2 separate regions of the Homo sapiens genome follow, and region 2 is linked to region 1. Evidence: promoter capture Hi-C in 16 types of primary human blood cells and fetal thymus (Javierre and others, 2016). All regions are on one chromosome and are shown on one strand. Each heading gives the region's core, a stretch centred on a gene start or on the middle of the fragment in contact. The rest is flanking DNA. Distances are from core to core; before and after follow the strand shown. Region 1 holds the start of NCR1 (natural cytotoxicity triggering receptor 1). Region 2 holds the start of SBK2 (SH3 domain binding kinase family member 2).

Evidence for each region. Contacts are between HindIII fragments. The CHiCAGO score rates a contact against its expected background, and 5 or more counts as called.
Region 2: the fragment with the promoter of SBK2 here is called in contact with the fragment with the promoter of NCR1 in region 1 in 1 of 17 cell types (fetal thymus); the score reaches 5.4 in fetal thymus.

What each region holds. Positions count from the first base shown.
Region 1 is chr19:54,904,711-54,907,824 of GRCh38, forward strand. NCR1 (natural cytotoxicity triggering receptor 1) reads left to right here and starts at 1,438. Exons shown (of 7, transcript NM_004829.7): 1 at 1,438-1,511; 2 at 1,589-1,624; 3 at 1,813-2,097. The coding sequence starts at 1,478. The HindIII fragment of the contact is 17,616 bases long and covers 1-3,114 here.
Region 2 is chr19:55,535,481-55,538,594 of GRCh38, forward strand. SBK2 (SH3 domain binding kinase family member 2) reads right to left here and starts at 1,653. Exons shown (of 4, transcript NM_001370096.2): 1 at 1,574-1,653; 2 at 562-816. The coding sequence starts at 814. RefSeq lists a silencer at 2,262-2,556. The HindIII fragment of the contact is 39,425 bases long and covers 1-3,114 here.

The DNA of each region.
Region 1 (3,114 bases), core at 188-2,687:
TAGTAGAGACAGGGTTTCTGCATGTTGGTCAGGCTGGTCTCGAACTCCCGACCTAAGGTGATCCACCTGCCTCAGCCTCCCAAAGTGCTGGGATGACAGGCCTGAGCCACCGTGTCTGGCCAGTATTTGGTTTTCTGTTTCTGTGTTAACTCGCTTAGGATAATGGCCTCTAGCTGCATCCATGTTGCTGCAAAGGACATAATCTTGTGATTTTTCAAGGCTGTATAGCGTTCTGTGGTGTATACATATCACATTGTCTTTATCCAGTCCACCTCTGATGGGACCTGGGTGGATTCCATGTCTTCACTATTGTGAATCCTGCTGCAATGAACATACAAGTGCATGTGTCTTTTTGGTAGAATGATTTATTTTCCTTTGGCTATATACCCAGCGATGGGATTGCTGGGCTGAATGGTAACTCTGTTTGTAGTTCTCTGAAATATCTCCAAACCAAACTGCTTTCCACAGTGGCTGAACTAATTTACACCCACCAACAGTGTATAAGTGTCCCCTTTGCTCCACAATCTCACCAGCATCTGTTAATTTCTGGCTTTTCAGTAATGGCCATTCTGACTGGTGTGAGATGGTATTGTTGAGGGATAATTTAGGAATCAGAGAGACCGAGGGGTTGAGGAGGATTTATTATTATTATTATTATTTAGGTGCACCGGCCCCAGTCAGATTAACATCCAAAAAGACTGAGGCTCGAACAGAGAGTCCGGTTACCTTTTAAGCATTTTGTGGGGTTGGGGGAGATCTGTGCAGGGGGAAGCATATTACAGAAGCAAGAAACAAAGGCAGTTATTCAATTGAGACATGCATCACATTATTCCTTACTTTTCAAGAAAAATATGTTTTACGACTTGAGGTTATCCTGTCTAGTGACCTTGCAGCCGCACGGCAAGAGAAACAGGGTCTTCACAATGCCTGGGAAAGGGAGAGATAAGGCTCACTAGCCACAGACAGAAAAACAGGCAGTTCATGTTTAAAGGACTCCACCTCTTTCTCTTCCTCGGGGGGAACTGGGTTTTCTTAAATACAACTGAGTTTTTGTTTACACATTCTGTAATTTCTTTTAATTCCTGTTCCAGTATCTCACTGTGAAACTCCCTATGTTTTTATACGATTCTCAGGGGGTTTCCTCTGGGCATGATTGGGCACAACTTCCCACAGTCAGCTCTGGGTACGACCTCCACATTGCAGAATTGAGAAGTTGACCCAGAAATGCATTTTGGGCTGAGCAGACAATTGTCAGAGTTGCTGGCTAGACCACAGATGTGTCAGAGGGACCACGGCCTTTCTGTAAGCTCATGGTCAGAGGCGGAGGGGAGTTGTGAACGTTCTGATGAAAGCAGTCAACGTGAAAGCGCTCTGGTGATGGGCGCTGGTGCTCACCCACCACTTCCTGTGTATCTATCTCCCTGGCCCGCCCGGCTCAGTCCCCACTGCTCAGCACTAGGCCGGCAGAATCTGAGCGATGTCTTCCACACTCCCTGCCCTGCTCTGCGTCGGTGAGTTCTGGCGTGGAAGGGGAATGGGATCACGGTGTGCCTGGGAGGCAACAGGTCTCATTACTCCCGTCTTCCAGGGCTGTGTCTGAGTCAGAGGATCAGCGCCCAGCAGCGTGAGTCCTTCCTTCAAAGCCCAGGGTCACTCTTCCGGATTCAGGCCAAGCTCCTTCCACCCAAGCACGGCTGGGGTGAGGGGACAGGGTGCTGGCTTCCCAGGAGAGCTTGGGGCCAGCAGCTGGGTGGAGCCTAAGGTTGGGGGGAGGGGGCTCCGCTGGAACTCCAGCCTCTGATTCCCTTCCAGAGACTCTCCCAAAACCGTTCATCTGGGCCGAGCCCCATTTCATGGTTCCAAAGGAAAAGCAAGTGACCATCTGTTGCCAGGGAAATTATGGGGCTGTTGAATACCAGCTGCACTTTGAAGGAAGCCTTTTTGCCGTGGACAGACCAAAACCCCCTGAGCGGATTAACAAAGTCCAATTCTACATCCCGGACATGAACTCCCGCATGGCAGGGCAATACAGCTGCATCTATCGGGTTGGGGAGCTCTGGTCAGAGCCCAGCAACTTGCTGGATCTGGTGGTAACAGGTAACTGTCCGGTTCTCTAACTGGAGAGTGATCTCAGTCTGCATCCGGGATGCAGCATCATCTATGAACTCTTCCAAGCCCCACTCAGACACTGCTTGTCTCGGTAGGAGGCTGGAAGGAGGGGTGATCCCCATCACAATCCTTGCCTACAAGGGGTTGTCTGCAGACCGTGTCTCTACGTCCTAGGAGCAGATGTGTCCTCAGTCAGTTTCTCCATGACACAGATTCTGAGATAGATATTTGTATGCAGGGGTATGACTGAGGAATGTCCTCAAAAACAATGCCTGTGGGCCAGGCGCAGTGGCTTACACTTTGCTTCCCTCACCCATCACAGGTGGTGGGTTTTTTTTTTTTTTATCTGTTTTGAGACGGAGTTTCGCTCTTGTCACCCAGGCTGGAGTGCAGTGGTGCAATCTCCAGTCACTGCAACCTCCACCTCCTGGGTTCAAGTGATTCTCCAGCCTCAGCTTCCCAAGTAGCTGGGATCACAGGCACCCACCACTACGCCACATTTTGTATTTTTAGTAGAGATGGGGTTTCACCATGTTGGCCAGGGTGGTGTCGAACTCCTGACCTCAGATGATCCGCCCGCCTCACCCTCCCAAAGTGCTGGGATTACAGGTGTGAGCCATCACACCCAGCCAGGTGGTGGTTTTCTAAAAAAAAAAAAAAATTAGCTTTTTTTTTTTTTTAACAATATGGTTGTTTATTATTATTATCAAGTATTATACATAGTTACATATACATACATAATTGTATGTGCTATACAATTAGGTTTGTTTATACCAGCAACACCAAAAACACATGAGCAATACTTTGTGCTAGGAAGGCTATGATGTCATCAGGCAATAGGAATTTTTCAGTTTCATTATAATCTTATGGGACCACCATCATATATGTGGTACATTGTTGGCCAAAATGTCATTATGCAGCTCACAACAGTATTTCATGTCCATTCAAATATCTTCTTTTGTGAAATGTCTATTTAAATCTTTTGCCTATTTTTAAATTGGGTTG
Region 2 (3,114 bases), core at 403-2,902, 630 kb after region 1:
CTCAGAGGATCCACCATTCTTCCAAGTAGAAATCATCACCCACATTTTCCAAAGGAGGAAGCTGAGACTCAGAGAGGGCAAGGGAGTTCCTCAAAACACAGTTTTTGGCAGGGCACCGTGGCTCATGCCTGTAATCCCAGCAATTGGGAGGCTGAGGCAGGCGGATCACTGGAGGCCAGGAGTACGAGACCACCCTGGCCAACAGAGTGAAACCTCATCTCTACTAAGAAAGAAAAATACACACACACACAAATGTAGCTGGGTGTGGTAGTGCATGCCTATAGTCCTAGCTACATGGGAGGCTGAGGCAGGAGGAACACTTGAACCTGGGAGGTGGAAGTTGCAGTGAGATTGTGCCACTGCACTCCAGCCTGGGCGGCAGAGCCAGACTGTCTCAAAAACAACCAACCAACCAAAAGAACAAAAAACAAAAAACACACAGCTTTGGAGGGCAGAGGTAAGACTTGATTCAGGCCTGCCAGCCTCCCCAGCCTGGGCTACCCCAGGCCCGTGCCCCGCCCCCAGCTGAACCCTGCCACCTCTGGCCCCACAGCCTCGTACCTTTCTGACGATGGGTGACCAGAAGGACGCGGCCATAGCAACCCTGGCCCAGGGGACGCACTTCCTCGTAGAGCTCGTCCACCTCGGCTCGGACCAGGGTCTGAGCACTCAGCGTCATCATGTCCTCCAGCGCGCGGGCAGCCTCCTGGCCCTGCTGGAGCTCCTCTAATGTCAGGCCGCCCAGACCCTCCTCCTCGCTGTCCTCCGAAGCCCCTGCCTCCGCCGGCCCTTCCTCAGACTGTTTGCCGGGCATCTCTGCGAGAACAGAGAGGGGTGCCCAGGCTCAGGTCCCAGGCCCAAGGGAGGAGGGGACTGGGGGTCTGGACTCCTGGGTCTGAGGGAGGAGGGGCTGGGGGCTCATCGCGCTTCTCATTGTGACTCAGTCTCCCTCTTGGTGAGAGGTGGGGAGACAAGTCTGGTGTGAGTTCAAGCCCCAGGTCACAGATGTCCCTGCCCGCGTGCCGCCGCCGCCACCCGCCCACCCTGAGGTTGAAAGATGAACCAGATAACTGAGACTCCCCCATCTTGTTTCCAAAGCAAACAGACTTGGGCCCTGGGGGTGGATGAGTAGACTCTGTCTCCTGAGAACAAACAGGTGCTCTTGGGCTCAGGGCTGGGAGGGCGGGCTGTGCAGAGGGCCTGGGACGCCTGGGTCCTGCATGGGACCGAGCACTTGGGATCAGTCCCCAAGCTCCTGACAGGCCTGGGGTCCCACTTTCACAGCCCACCCACCTCCCTCCGACCCAGCCCCCCAGCCCCTCCTCCGCCAGGCCCAGGGGTCCAGGCCCCCAGCCCACCTCTCTCCCGGAACCTCATACAATTCACACAACTGGGGACCCCCTGATTCTGTTTCCCTCACCCTCCACCGCTCTACAGCCTCCAGGTGCAGCCCAGGCTCCCCTGAGGGACCGAGGACTCGGGCCACCTGGTACAGTCACCCTCAGGTGCTGCCCACCTCAGGCCAGGGCACCTTGCCCACCTCCCAACCTGGGCTCAGACCTCCAGACCTCACCTCCTCCAAGGCCCTCCTGACCCTCCGGCCGCCGGCTGTGGTCAGTGCCCGGCACTTAGGGCTCATGCCAGCAGAGGCCTGCCTAGGAGCAAGACCCCGCCCCGACTTTGGGGGTCGTAAGGCCCCGCCCCTGGGCCCGCCCCTTCTGCCCCCACTGGGAGCAGAGCGACATCGTGTGATGACTCCTGGAACTGGCTGTGGTCAGGTGAATACCCTGACCCAAGAGTTGAGCCCTCCTCCTTCAGACCCAGGAGTCCAGGCCCCAGCCCCTCCTCCTCCCTCAGACTCAGGAGTCCAGGCCCCCAGCGCCTCCTCCCTCAGACCCAGGAATCCAGTCTCCCAGTGCCTCCTCCCTCAGACCCAGGAGTCCAGGCCCCAGCCCCTCCTCCCTCAGACCCAGGAGTCCAGGCCCCCAGCTCTTCTTCCCTCAGACCCAGGAATCCAGGCCCCCAGCTTTCCCTCCCTCAGACCCAGGAATCCAGTCCCCCAGTGCCTCCTCCCTCAGACCCAGGAGTCTAGACCCCAGCCCCTCCTCCCTCAGACCCAGGAGTCTAGGTCTCCAGCCCCTCCTCCCTCAGACCCAGGAATTCAGGTCTCCAGCCCCTCCTCCCTCAGACCTAGGAGTCCAGACCCCCAGCCCCTCCTCCCTCAGACCCAGGAGTCCAGGCCCCAGCCCCTCCTCCCTCAGACCCAGGAGTCCAGGCCCCAGTCCCTCCTCCCTCAGACCCAGGAGTCCAGGCCTCAGCCTCCCCCACCCATCTGAAGTTTTCCGGCAGAACTGAGGCCTCCCCACCCCCTCAAGGCCTCTCTTCCCAGTTGCTCCAGCACCTGCTTCCCGCCCCTCTGAGTCTGAGGTCATCCCACACTGCATCGTTCTGGAATCTCATTGTCTCATTCTTTCCCCAAACTAGACCCCAGCATCTGATCCCCTGGACACCCCTCTCCAAGCACTTGTGTCTGACCTGTCAATGGGGCATTGATGGGGCAGCTGGGTGGGGTCAAGGCAGGGGTGGGTTCCAGAAATGATTTCATTTTCTACACGGGACCCGGACTCCTGGGCCTGATGGAGGAGGGGGTTGAGGACCTGGACTCCTAGGTCTGAGGGAGGAGGGGGTTGAGGACCCGGACTCCTGGGCCTGAGGGTGGAGGGGGTTGAGGACCTGGACTCCTGGGCCTGAGGGAGGAGGGGGTTGAGGACCTGGACTCCTGGGTCTGAGGGAGGAGGGCCTGAGGGCTCCTGATTCCAAAGAGAGGAATAACAATAAAAATAGTTTGAAAGCGCATAACAGGAATACAGGCCAGTGAGTGCCTCCCTGCTGTAAGCACAGGGAGATTAAGCCCCACTAGGAAGTCCCCAAGCCTTGGGCCACAGTGGGACTTCAGACCCCTGTTTTTTTCTGGGACGGTTGCACCCACCCTTCAGGGTTTTTTATTTCTTTTTTTTTTTTTTTTTTTTGCTTTTTGAGACGGAATCTCGCTCTGTCACCCAGACTGGAGTGCAGTGACGTGATCTCGGCTCACTGCAACCTCCAACTCTCTGG